Linked DNA regions of Homo sapiens: all the other regions are linked to region 1. Evidence: promoter capture Hi-C in human tissues and cell types (Jung and others, 2019). All regions are on one chromosome and are shown on one strand. Each heading gives the region's core, a stretch centred on a gene start or on the middle of the fragment in contact. The rest is flanking DNA. Distances are from core to core; before and after follow the strand shown. Region 1 holds the start of ERC1 (ELKS/RAB6-interacting/CAST family member 1). Region 2 has its middle 39 kb from the start of FBXL14. Region 3 has its middle 39 kb from the start of LINC00942. Region 4 overlaps B4GALNT3 (beta-1,4-N-acetyl-galactosaminyltransferase 3).

Region 1 (3,080 bases), core at 200-2,699:
AATATCTATTGACTCCTAGTTGAATTTTCTCTTACCTTACCACACTGCTAGGGAGTAACAAGATGGGCAGATCACGAGTCAGATGAGAAAGGTCATGAAAAATAGTCAAAGGATGACTTTTCCTGGGTAAATAGCCGGATGTCCAAGAAATGAAAGGCTGGTCTGGCAGCAGCACATCGTCTAACAGTTGGTAGTCATATGTGGGAAGTACTGAAGGGGGAGATGACAGCAGGCCCAGAAACTGCAATGATCCAAGTGCATGTCGATCCTGGGAGGGAACAGTTAAGAGTCCGGGCAGGATGAAACAGTAGAAACTGGTGAGTGAATGAATGTGAAGGCTGAGGAGCGACTGCAATTTGTTAATGGGATTATGAGGCAGTATAAAGTGGTTAATTACGGTGGCGGAGGTAAGCAGGAGTAAAATGATGGCTTTTAACTCCTCTCAAGGACACCGAAAATTATTTTAATAAACACTGGAAGGCTGGGAATAAATATAATTCACACCATTCTTACTTTCTTGGTTTAGAGATAGCTTATCTACATCCTTAAATTAATGGCTGTAGCTACCCTCTGCATGGCTCCAAAAAAAAAACAAAAAACAAAAAACAAAACCAAAGCCGGCTGCGAGTCTGCACGAGAAAATCGGGTTGCACCAGGCCCCAGCCGCCCGCCGATTCGCTTAGCTGTCGGAGGCTAAATAAACAGCTCCCGAAGCAGCGTTTGGCACAGCGCAGGGTCGGAACGTGGACACTAATTTCCGCCCACGCTCCCCGCGTCCTGGCGGGATCACCACAGACACGACGTCCATTGCTGGGGTCCTCGGCGATGCCCGTGTGCGCAGCCCCGCGAGTCTCAGGTCAGAAGACCACTAATTTCGCGGCCGCGTTCCACGAAGCTAAGGGGCAAAAAACCAGCTTTCTTGGGACAAAGCGTCCCCCCAGCAGCCAGGGTCGATCCCGGCGCTGCTCCCGCGGCGCTTGGCTGCCCCGGGCGTAACGGGCCACGAGAAGTAGGGGGTGGGGCGCCGCTTAGGTTTGGGAAGACACGAAGCGGCTCCTCGGGCTTCCAGCGTCCACTTCCTACGGCAAGCAGGAGGAGACAAGCGCCACCCTGCGCTCGCGGAGCCGACCCCGGCTCTCCCCTCCCGTGGCCGCAGGGGTCGTGTGTGTGTGTGTGTGAGTGTGTGTGTGTGTGCAGGGACGCTCCGCGCCCATCACTCTGTTTCGGTGCTAATCGACCGCCGTGGCGCCGATTTCCCCCGCTTCCCAGTTCCTCACCCGCGTGCCCCGGAAGGCGCCCGGAGGCCCCCGGGCCGCCGCGTCACGCTCCCGGGAGGCTGAGGGAAAGGGAGGCAGCCGAGCCGGGAGCCCGGGGAGGCGCGCTGCGCCCCGCGGCGGGGCTGGGGGCGGGGCTAGGTGTCTCGCGCAGGGGGCGGGGCGCGGTGACGTCGCGGGCGCCTGGGCCGTGCTGTGGCGGCGGCGGCGGCGGTAGTGGCGGCGGCGGCGGTGCCTGGGCGGCAGCAGCAGCAGTAGCGGCAGCCCTGAGGACGGTGAGACGGCCGCGGCGGCGGCGACAGCGCGGAAGTCGCGCGGGACCCAGAGCTTCCCCCCTGTCGCTAGTGCTGAGGCTTTCGCCTTTCCTACCCAGCTTCTTGCTCACGGCCCGGGCTGGGCTGGGCAGGGCAACGCGCCCCCGGGGAGGGGCGGAGCTGTAGGTGAGGCTTCGCGACCCCCTCCCCCTCCTCGGCAGCCCGGGGGGTGGGGAGGGGCGGGCCCCACCCAGACCACCGGCGCCCACCCGCGGGCTCCACCCAGCCGGGCTCCGGGATCGGGCGGGAGCCGAGGCGGTAGATGTGGGGATCCTGGGGCGGGAGGTGGGGGAGTGGGGACTGGGGCTCTGGGCACTTGGGGAGCGGAGGGGGGGAGGCTTAGGACTAGTGAAGCCGCGGACGAGGTAGTGGGGAGACGGAGAAATTGGGGAGCCATGAGGTTGGGGTGCGGTCAGGGTGGATCTTTGGGTTAGGTGAGTGATGTAAAATGCTGAAGATGATTCTTTTCTTTTCGATGAAATGGTGAGATAAAAGATGAAGTGTATTTCAAAAGGACGATGAGCTGTGCATGTTGCCTTTGAGGCAGTTGCAGAACCTATTTTATTGCACTAGATCTCACGTTTCTACTTTAGGGTTCGATTCTTTTTCTTCTGGCGGGGTGGGTGGGGGGTCGGAGAGGGAAGAGAATCCCCTTACTTTGGCTCAGGTAAATTGTGAGCGTGGATGTATCTGAAAGTTTTACACCGAAGAAGAGGGAGATCTTCGGTTTAGACAACTTCGTTCCGGCAGCCACCATTTGGGTCGCATTACGCTTAGCTCCTTCAAGGTGGTGTCTTCCAGTTTTTTTTCCCCCCAATGCCTAAAAGATCTCTTTATACCACCCTTTTACAGGCTTTATCCTGGCCCCTTGAGAGAAGGCCCCAAACTCAGGTGGTTGCTTTGGAAGGCACATTGCTGAATAATAGTTGCAGGTGGTTGTGGTTGACTGCTTTGGGTGGATAAAGTGAACAATTGGAATAGTTCTGTTGGAGCTAATTATATGAAAAATGCTTAAATGTTTTAAAGTACAACCGTCTTTTATAGCGTGTTGCTTGCTCAGTACACCTTGACTTTTAGACATTTTGTGTTCAGTGCTAAATTGTTGAAATTTTATTTCTCATTTGCAGTTATGTTTCTTGCAGTCTTTATTAAAACACTTTAAAATGAAATGGAACTCTTTTTTTTTGGTAGGCTCCTCAATTTCTGAGAAATGTTCTTGGAGTCAAGTGCTTTAAAAACATTTTGGGGGCAGGTGTGTCACTTTGTATGGAAATATTAGAGTAAGCAGTGTTCAATGTTCTTCACATCACTCTTTCACAACTTAGCACTGTAAATCAGAATCTTCTTTTCTGGATTCTTGCTCCCTGTTAGATTACAGTATTCTCTGGCCCTACTTATCAGTTAGTGTCATTTAAGCTATTTCTTGTTCAGAAAACAGGTCCCATGATGGACATGTATTATGTAATGGATGGAAGTAGACATGGCTCTCAAT
Region 2 (3,080 bases), core at 339-2,838, 560 kb after region 1:
AAAGACACCTCTACACAAAAATTCCGATTTAAAACCTAGTGCGTTCCTTTAACTATTTGGTTTTAGTTTGTCCTCCTCAGTGGACCCCCATCTTTGAGGGCAGAAACCCCCTTCCATACACCACTGTGCCCGTGGCCCTGCCCTCATGAAGGGCTCGGCCTGGAGCAGGTGTGGGCAAATTTTGTGCGATGAATGAGTCCTCCCTGGTGAGGCTGACTGGCCAGCAGATGCTGCAGGAGAGCTACCCATGTGGGAGGTTCCTGGAAGCCTTTCAGAGACAAATGGCATTTGAGAAGGACTTGGAGGAAACCCCTGAACTGGCAAGCGAGAGAGGGAAAAACCCTTCCAGGTGAAGGTCGAGTGGAAAGGTAGATAGAGGTGTGGCAGGGAATAAAGGAACAGAGATGGTAGGAGAGATTCCATCCTGGGCAGAGCAGAGAAGCCAGGTGGGGCAGAGGAGCGAAGGAGACCAGCGATCGGGCAGGAGAAAGAGTGGAAGGAAGGTCTTGAAGGAGAAGTGCCAGGAGGTGGACAGGGCCATGCAGCTGCAGGGGCACAGTTCCCATACGACCTCCAGCTGCCCAGTGGTTTTCTGGCAGTCCCTCAGCCAGATGTTTGTATAGTACCCAGGCCAGGTGCTGCCTGGCTCTCAAACATTTGAATAACTGAAACCATCTCAGAGGAGGTTGTATTTTTAGCCAGGGGCTGTGGTAGGCAATAGTTCCAGTCGTCCTGGCTACTAGAGTGGCAGGGAGGCTCTGGTGTCTGAGTAGGCGTTGGATTCTCATTCTGACTTGCCTCTGACAGGCTGAGATGCTGGGAAAGCCCCTCGATCCTTCCAGATCACCTGCCTGAGTGGTGGGGGGGCAGGGGTTGCAGTCTGAGTTTGGTCTCTTTCTGAGGGGGCAATGGTAGAAGTTTCCCTTATGTGGCAATGGGAGGGAAGGGGCCGGTTGGGAGAATCCTTATTTCTCCTTGATGATGGGCATTGGTTCTTAACCCACGGGAACAATTTATCAGCTTCATTGATCCCTAATGGTTCAGGGTAAAACCTGCTACACAAGGTCACAGTCCAAAAAGGACCCATGTCTTTTTTTTTTTTTTTTTTTGAGACGGAGTCTCTCTCTTGTCACCCAGGCTGGAATGCAGTGGTGCGATCTCAGCTCACTGCAACCTCCGCCTCTCTGGTTCAAGCGATTCTCCTGCTTCAGACTCCTGAGTAGCTGGGATTACAGGCACCTACCATCACGCCTGGCTAAGTTTTGTATTTTTACTAGATATGGGGTTTCACCATGCTGGCCAGGCTGGTCTTGAACTTCTGACCTCAGGTGATCCACCTGCCTTGGCCTCCCAAAGTGCTGGGATTACAGGCATGAGCCACCACACCCGGCCTCATATGTCTTTTGACCCCTGGGGTGCTGCTAGCTATCAAACTGGGCAGTCAAATGTGGGATGCATTCCTTTCAATGCTGCCTCGTATCTGCTCATTCACTGAGCAGAAGAAGCTTTATGCTCCAACAGGGACTCACGGACAAAGACCAGTTTTTTCAATTATCAGATAGGTTCACAAACATTATTGTTTTTTAAAAATTTATGGTAAAATGTACTTAACAAAATTTTCCATTTCAACCATTTTTAAGTGTACAGTTCTGTGGCATTGGGCACATTCACACTGCTGTGTAATCATCACCACGTCCATCTCCAAAACTTTTCCATCTTCCCCAACTGAAATTCTGTTCAGAATTAACACTATTGTTTAATTAACATAAAACAATAACTTCCCATCCTTCCTGCCTTCCAGCCCCTGACAACCACTTCTTTCTGTCTGCTTCTACTTTCCTGCGTATGTATGTATGTATTTATTTTTGAGACAGGGTCTTGCTCTGTTACCCAAGTTGGAGTGCAGTGGTGCAACCACAGCTCACTGCAGGCTCAAACTTCTGGGCTTAAGCAGTCCTCCCACCTCAGCCTCCTAAGTAGCTGGGACTACAGGTGTGTGCCACCACACTCTGCTAATTTTTTAGTTTTTATTTTTTGTATAGACAGGGTCTCACCATGTTGACCAGGCTGGTCTCAAACTCCTGGGCTCAAGTGATCCTCCCACCTCAGCCTCCCGAAGTGCTGGATTACAGGCGCGAGCCACCACATCGGGACCTACTTTCTATCTATGAGTTTATCTATTATAAATACCTCTTAGAAGTGGAATTATAAAATATGTCCTTTTGTGTCTGGCTTATTTTGCTTAGCATCTATGTTTCATCCATGGATGAAACTTTTTTTTTTTTGAGACGGAATCTTGCTCTGTCGCCCAGGCTGGAGTCCAGTGGCGCAATCTCGGCTCACTGCAAGCTCTGCTTCCCGGGTTCACGTCATTCTCCTGCCTCAGCCTCCCAAGTAGCTGGGACTACAGGTGCCTGCCCCCACGCCTGGCTAATTTTTTGTATTTTTAGTAGAGACGGGGTTTCACCGTGTTAGTCAGGATGGTCTCGATCTCCTGACCTTGTGATCCACCCGCCTCAGCCTCCCAAAGTGCTGGGATTACAGGCGTGAGCCACCTCGCCTGGCCCATGGATGAAACTTAGCAATATTTCATCCATGTCGTAGCATGCATCAGAATTTCCTTCCTTTTTTAAGGCTGAATAATATTCCATTGCATGTGTATACAACATTTTGTTTATCCCCCAATAGAATATTACTTTTTTATTTTTTAACTTCAATTTTTATTTGTAGTTGACAAATAACAATTGTAAATTTACAGGGTACAATGTGATGTTTCGATATATGTATACCTTGTGGAATGATTATATCAAGCTGACACATCTATCACCTCACATACTTATCCTTTTTTGTAGTGAGTGCATTTAAAATCTATTGTTTTAGCAATTTTGAGATATATAATACATTATTATTAACTGTGGTTGCCATGCTGGGTAATAGATCTTGAAGAATTATTCCTCCTGTCTAACTGGAACTTTCTACCCTTTGGTCAACATCTGTGCATTCCCCACCCCTCACCCCCAGTATCTGGTAACCACCATTCTACACTGTAATTCTATAAGTTTGACTTTTTAAGATACCAC
Region 3 (3,080 bases), core at 390-2,889, 550 kb after region 1:
TGTTATACCCATGGAACATACAGGTATTTTATATTTCCCTTATTGGTCCTCTGTCTGCTTCCCCTTGCTAAAACAGAAACACCACAAGGGCAGGGGTTGTTGTCTGTTTTGTCCACTGTTGTATCTTAAAGAGTACATGGGACAGTGCCTGACACGCAGTGGGTGTTCAGTGAACATTTGCTGAAGGACTTAAGTGGATGAAAGACAGCGGTTTCACCTGTTGGCAGGGAAGAGTGTTAACAGTGGGAACAGGCTGAGCGTGGTGGCTCATTCCTGTAATCTCAGTGCTTTGGGAGGGATGGCTTGAGGCCAGGAGTTCTAGACCAGCCTGAGCAACATAACAAGACACCCATCTCTACAAAAAATTTTAAAAAGTATCTGGGTGTGGTGGTGAACACCTGTAGTCCCAGCTACTTGGGAGGCTGAGGTGGGAGCATCCCTTGACCCTGGGAGGTTGAGGCTGCAGTGAGCTATGACTGTGCTGCTGCACTCCAGCCTGGGTGACAGAGGGAGACCTTGTCTGAAAACAAGCAAACAAAATCGTAGGTTCTTCCTCTGCTCCGTTGCTCCCTCCCCATCTTGGCCTCCTTTGCCATACCATAGAGGTGGGGCAGCTGGCGAGAACATGTGGCCCTGGGATATGCCTGTTTTATCAGAACTGATGAAAGTATAACATGTTCACTGAAAAACATTGACTTTTTTTCATTTTTTAATTCATTCATATTTTCATTGAAAATATGAAGAAAATGATGATTTTGAGTTATCATTGGTAGGATTTTGGTGCATTCCTTTTCGGTTTTTTCTGCCTGTGTGTACAAGCACACATGTATTTACAGGCTCAGGTGTGTGTTTCCACACATGCGCGTCTCCTCCGGACAGGTGGTGACACCTTGAGGGCCAGCACCGTGCCTGTTCTCCTCCTCTCCAGCTCCTCTCTTGAGCCTGGCGTGGATCGGGTGCACACAGTGGTAGATCACAGGGATGGCTGGACAAGTGCGTGATCTGTTTCCTGGTGAGCACCTGGAGTCCATGCAGAGCCAGTCCCTGTGATTTCTTTGCCTTTTTGGTTGATGAGCTGCTGGGTAAGGGCAATGTCTTCACCACTTTTGTTTCCTTAAGGTTGTTCAAGAGTCAGGTTTCTCAGCCCCGACACCATGGATATTTTGGACCCAATAATTCTTTGTTGAAGAGGGCTGCTCCATGTATTGTAGGATGTCTGAGAACACACCTGGCCCCTACCCACACGATGCCAGTAGCACCCCACTCCGAAGGATGACAACCAAAAATGTCTCTGGACATTGCCAAATGTCCCGTGGGGAGAGCGGGAGGGAGCAGAGTCACCCTGGGAGACGACCGCTGTTCCAAAATGCCTCTGTTTTTTTCCTGACAGTCTTCCCTTGTTTTTGTTTCTCCTAAATCCTGTGGATTTATTATCCGTTTTACATCCTATTTCCATGCTACTGCCGAGGGCAGGCCGTTGGGGAGCTGATGTGAATTATGGCAGCAGCTTTCTCACTAGCTGTTTGTCCCTGGGCCCACCCTCACAAGGCCATCTCTCCCGCTGCTCCCAGGTGGACCATGCCGCTACCCTCTTCACCCATGAACGGCCACCCTGCTGATTAAACAGGTCCTCAAGTTGAACGAGGTGTCCTGTAGCAGAAGAGGTTTTGGTATTTACTGTGTAGTTGGGGTATCAGCCTTCCTTGGCTAGTCTGGCGGTGATTTTCAAGCTTTTACAAGTCTTTGCGAGCCCGTGCTTTCCGTCCTGTCCGGTGGAAAGCGCATGGCCTTGAGGCTCAGGGGGACTTCGGTTTAAACTAACTCAGCTGTTCAAGCCTAATTGGCTTGCCTTGCCCATTTAGGTTTTCTGAACTCCAGTTTCTTCACTGTTTAAACAGGGATAATAATGCCCAACTCCTAAGGTCATTTTTGAGAATGAAATGTGATAATTTTGTGAATTAGGGCAATGCCTAACATGTATCATGTACTTAGTCAATGTTAGGTCCCACTTTAACACTTCATTGAAAAAAAGTAAAAGTGTCAAGAAATTGACACCTAGATTCTGAAATACCTTGTCGGAATTTAGGCAGAAGATCAGAGTGTTTTATAATTTGGTTTATTTTGATGATTGAGGAGACAAAGGAGACCTGAGAATTCACTTCCATGACAGCTGCTTTTACCGAAGACCTGTTGAGAGGTCTGCAGCTCCAGGCTCTTGGACTTTTCCTGGACAGTCCTCCCAACCAAGAGGTGGGTTCCTGGATGGCAGGAGTGATGTCCTCCTTGTCTGGGCTCCTCTCTCCTCACTGATAATCCCACCACTCGGCGTTGCTGCTGCTCAGCCATATTGACACGTTAATGAGCTAGTGACTTCTAAACAGGTTATCCTCCCCGGTTCAAGAAATCCAGCCATAATTACCATGTTTCATCGATATTAAGATGCATTTCAACATATCTGAGGTCAGAATGCATCTCAGAATCAATATTGTATGACAGTTTGATGACAAGTACTTTTCTTTCTTGGTGGTACAAAATAATGGTGCATTCTAGAATCAGTAGCATCTTAGGTTTGGTGAAATAAGGTAATTGATCACTGTTTACTAAGGGGACCTGTTGTCATTTCCTGGTGCCTAACTTGGTGTTCACTTGGAAATGCACTTTTGTATTTTGCCAAACAGAATATTTGTTTCCTGTCACCTTCAAGTTGAACATCTATTAACCATGTTAAAATTGAGAGAGGAAATTCTAGGCAAAAACTGGACGTCCCATGGACCCTGGACCCTGATGCTTGAGCCTGCTGGGCTGCTCGTGGCCACCTGGGAATCAGCAGTCCAGGATTTCTGCCCTTGCATTGCTGAGAATCTTGAGCAAATGTGCTCATCACTGCCAGTCTCCCTCTTCTCATTGGTACATGGAGTCACAGTGTAACCCCTTCCTATCTCATAGAACCGCTAGGGTCAAGCGACATGGCGTGTAGGGAAGTGCTTTATACCCAACGGTAAGAACAACGAAGTGCTGTTCCTACCTGATACGCAGAAGGGAACTGTGACCCAAAGACTTGTTTAAATTCACTGACAAAG
Region 4 (3,080 bases), core at 394-2,893, 510 kb before region 1:
CCGGAAGTTTAAGACCAGCCTGGGCAACATAGCAAGACCCCCATCTCTACCAAACAATAAAATAAAATAAAGAAAAATTAGCTGGGCATGGTGGTGTGCACCTGTAATGCTAGTTATTAATACTTGGGAGGCTGAGGCAGGTGGATCGCTTGAGCATAGGAGTTGGAGGCTGTAGTGAGCTGTGATCACGCCACTGCACCCCAGCCTGGGTGACAGAGCAAGGCCCTGCCTCATAAATAAATAAATGCTTATCTGAGCGCCTAGTATGTGCCCAGAATTGAATGTTGATTTGAAGATACATGCAGTAGATGTTAGGCGCCATTGTTTATTATAACTTAATCAGCTTTTCAATACCCTCTGTCCCTGTTTTGATTGGTTTTAGCATGCTGACTTTCACATATCAAAGAATCCTAGGACAGGGTGGACCCCAGGGGTGCAGACATGGAAGAAAACCAAAAGCAAAGCAGAAGTCCAGAGATTTTAAATTCTGAAATGGATTATATCTGCATTTCTTCTTCTAGGCCCATGGCAGACATCTCCAATAGAACATGAAATTCTTTTACCGAGCTCAGCTGCAGCCTCAGAATTTTCTCAACATTTCTCACCAGGCAGTCACTACAAATTGACTTGAGCTGCCCCTTAAAAAGGTTATCTATTTACCCAGCCTCCTGATTTTACCAGTGAAGAATTGAAAGCCTGGAGAGCTTTAATCAACCTGCCCATATAGCAGTTTATAGGACTCCTGGTGCCTAGACTATTGTTTACAACACACCATGCCACTCACCCTCTGCCTTCGCTCATTCCCTTTTTGTTTGCTGAGGATGCCTCCTTTTAACATCTGAGTTTCACGAGGTCAGGGAAGATCCTTTCTTTTTCTAACTGCCCTAACAATCTGGTAGTATATTGTGCCTGCATATAGACCAACCTCAAGTCTATTGATCTATTTTTTTCTTACCAGTGAACTAGCTGAAGTTATTGCCACTCAGTTGGGGGTGGATCATGCATGTTCCCAACTCAGCTGCCTTTAGGGGTGATCCATGCACTGACACCCTGCATTGACATTGATATTGGAGAGTAACCTGCAAAGAAGTTATTGTTGATGTTGAATTGAATTTTCACATTGCACGAGAAAGGCCAAGGCTCGACATTCTTCATCCAACAGGTTCCTTTGTTGCACACTCCCGTCCTGAGAAACGGAACCCATTCCAGTGTACAGCTTCTTAAATAAAAGGCAAATGGAGTCATGATTTCCTCTCTCACTTTCTTGAATCGAGAAGGGATGGGAAATAATGAATAGATGAAGTTGATTTTAGATCAGAAGAATCCTGGAACACATGAATGATGAAGCCCTTTGGTAGACAGATTCATGATGTATTTAAAACATTGCTGTCTTATCCGTTATTCTTCTCTCTGTGTAGAAATATACAAGTTGATGAGGGCAGATATTTTCATAATCCTAGTTCTGTTTAGCAAATGGAAGTCCATTACTGGCAGTGTGAGGGTAAAAAGTGAAATGGGTAACAGATTAAAGAAAAGTGGCAGAGAGGTAGCAACAAATAGGTTCAGAACATGTTTGGAAGATTATAGAGGGGGCACAATGGTTCAGAATGCCTGCAATCCTGGCACTTTCAGAGGCTGCTGTGGGCATATTGCTTGCACCTAGGAGTTTTAGAGCAGCCTGGGCAACATGGCAAGACCCCATCTCTACAAAAAATTTAAAAGTTAGCCAGGCATGGTGGCCCAACCCTGTAGTCCCAGCTACTTGGGAGGCTGAGGTGGGAGGATCGCATGAGCCCAGGAGATCAAGGCTGCAGTGAGCTGTGTTCGCACTACTGCACTCCAGCCTGGGTGGCAGAGTGACACTCTGTCTTTAAAAAAAAAAAAAAAAAAAAAATTAGAGGAGGTAAAAAAAAAAAAAATATTCAAGCCTGATTTAGCTTGTTGAATGAGAATTCAATTTTGCTTTGATGCATGAAAATTGAAAAAATATTTGCATAAAGAAAATTCTCCAGTAGTAAAGCTTTAATTAGGTTGCTTAGGAAATACCACCTGTCTGTTTTAGGGAAGTATTTATTGATTGAAGCAAGAGCTATCAAATTGGAAGTCAACATTTACCATTTTGAGAAAAAGAAATGGGCAAAAACTACCCAAGGTACTTGTTAATACAAAAAAGAATAGGGAAGTTCAGTTTCTGGGATATAGAAATTGGTTGTGATATTTTCAGTGATGATTCTTCTAGCAGCTTTTTCAACAGGAAAAAAAATCCTTAAGAAAGGGTTTTTCTATCTTTTTCTGATCCTTTGTATCTCTAAGAAGGTTGGGAAAGTTCCAGGGTGGTGAACACTTTCTCCAGCCGGCAGGGTTTTCACGAACCAATCTTGGGAAGGAAGGGGTGGAAGGGCAGGCAAACAACAGTACCCTGTTTTTACATAGAACCTTTCTCCTGGGAAGTCACAGCTGTGGTTACCTTCAGGATCAGAGGTTGCTACTGCTCTTCTCCCTGAAGGAAGTTTGGTCCTTTTCCACCCATCTGGGAAGGTGTCCTTATGGACAATGGAAGTGGAAAATGACACCCACCTAGCGTGATGAATCCTGGAGTTCGCTGGGAAGACAGAGGTTACAGCCTCCTTTATAGAGAGGGGAAACTAAGGCAAGAGGAAGCTGGCACAGACAAACCTATTAAGTCCTGAAGGAATCAAGGCTTCTGACTCAGCTCCAGGTAGGGGATGTAGCAGAGTTCAGAAGCTCAGCAGGCCACAGGAGACAGCCTAGAGTCTCTCTGCAGTGACCTGACTCTTGGTGAAGGTATTTTGTTTCATGGCTGTGGCTTTTTTTTTATTATTATTTAAATGAAGCAGGGTCTCACCATGTTGCCCAGGTTGGTGTCAAACTCCTGGGCTCAAGCCATCATCCGACCTCAGCCGCCAGAGTAGCTGGGTTACAAGCACGTGCCACCGTGTTCAGTGATGGCTGTGGCTTTGATGGTGTCACTGCCCCACTCTGCCCAGATCCCTTCCCTGAACTGTTGTTCTTGGACTGCCAAACTGGGTAGGGGCAGTAGGACTTTGAATCTGGTCATC

What was found. Contacts are between HindIII fragments. The study calls those that stand out against the background at their distance.
Region 2: a fragment that was not itself captured here is called in contact with the fragment with the promoter of ERC1 in region 1 in 1 of the 25 tissues and cell types used here (IMR-90 fibroblasts).
Region 3: a contact is called between a fragment that was not itself captured here and the fragment with the promoter of ERC1 in region 1, in 1 of the 25 tissues and cell types used here (dorsolateral prefrontal cortex).
Region 4: a fragment that was not itself captured here is called in contact with the fragment with the promoter of ERC1 in region 1 in 2 of the 25 tissues and cell types used here (IMR-90 fibroblasts and lymphoblastoid cells).

The regions. Positions count from the first base shown.
Region 1 is chr12:989,774-992,853 of GRCh38, forward strand. It overlaps ERC1 (ELKS/RAB6-interacting/CAST family member 1), which reads left to right and starts at 1,450. Exons shown (of 19, transcript NM_178040.4): 1 at 1,450-1,549. It also overlaps a transcript of RAD52 not described here. RefSeq lists enhancers at 281-843, 1,405-1,966 and silencers at 665-714, 1,125-1,234, 1,255-1,764, 1,970-2,264. The HindIII fragment of the contact is 12,512 bases long and covers 1-3,080 here.
Region 2 is chr12:1,553,923-1,557,002 of GRCh38, forward strand. No RefSeq gene overlaps it. Among named protein-coding and RNA genes, the nearest start is that of FBXL14, 39 kb to the right of the region's middle. RefSeq lists enhancers at 346-415, 476-535, 816-915. The HindIII fragment of the contact is 4,184 bases long and covers 1-3,080 here.
Region 3 is chr12:1,537,852-1,540,931 of GRCh38, forward strand. No RefSeq gene overlaps it. Among named protein-coding and RNA genes, the nearest start is that of LINC00942, 39 kb to the left of the region's middle. The HindIII fragment of the contact is 3,970 bases long and covers 1-3,080 here.
Region 4 is chr12:476,379-479,458 of GRCh38, forward strand. The region is part of intron 1 of B4GALNT3 (beta-1,4-N-acetyl-galactosaminyltransferase 3); the gene reads left to right. LOC124902853 (a long non-coding RNA gene) reads left to right here. Exons shown (of 2, transcript XR_007063151.1): 2 at 959-1,247. Among named protein-coding and RNA genes, the nearest start is that of B4GALNT3, 18 kb to the left of the region's middle. The HindIII fragment of the contact is 4,682 bases long and covers 1-3,080 here.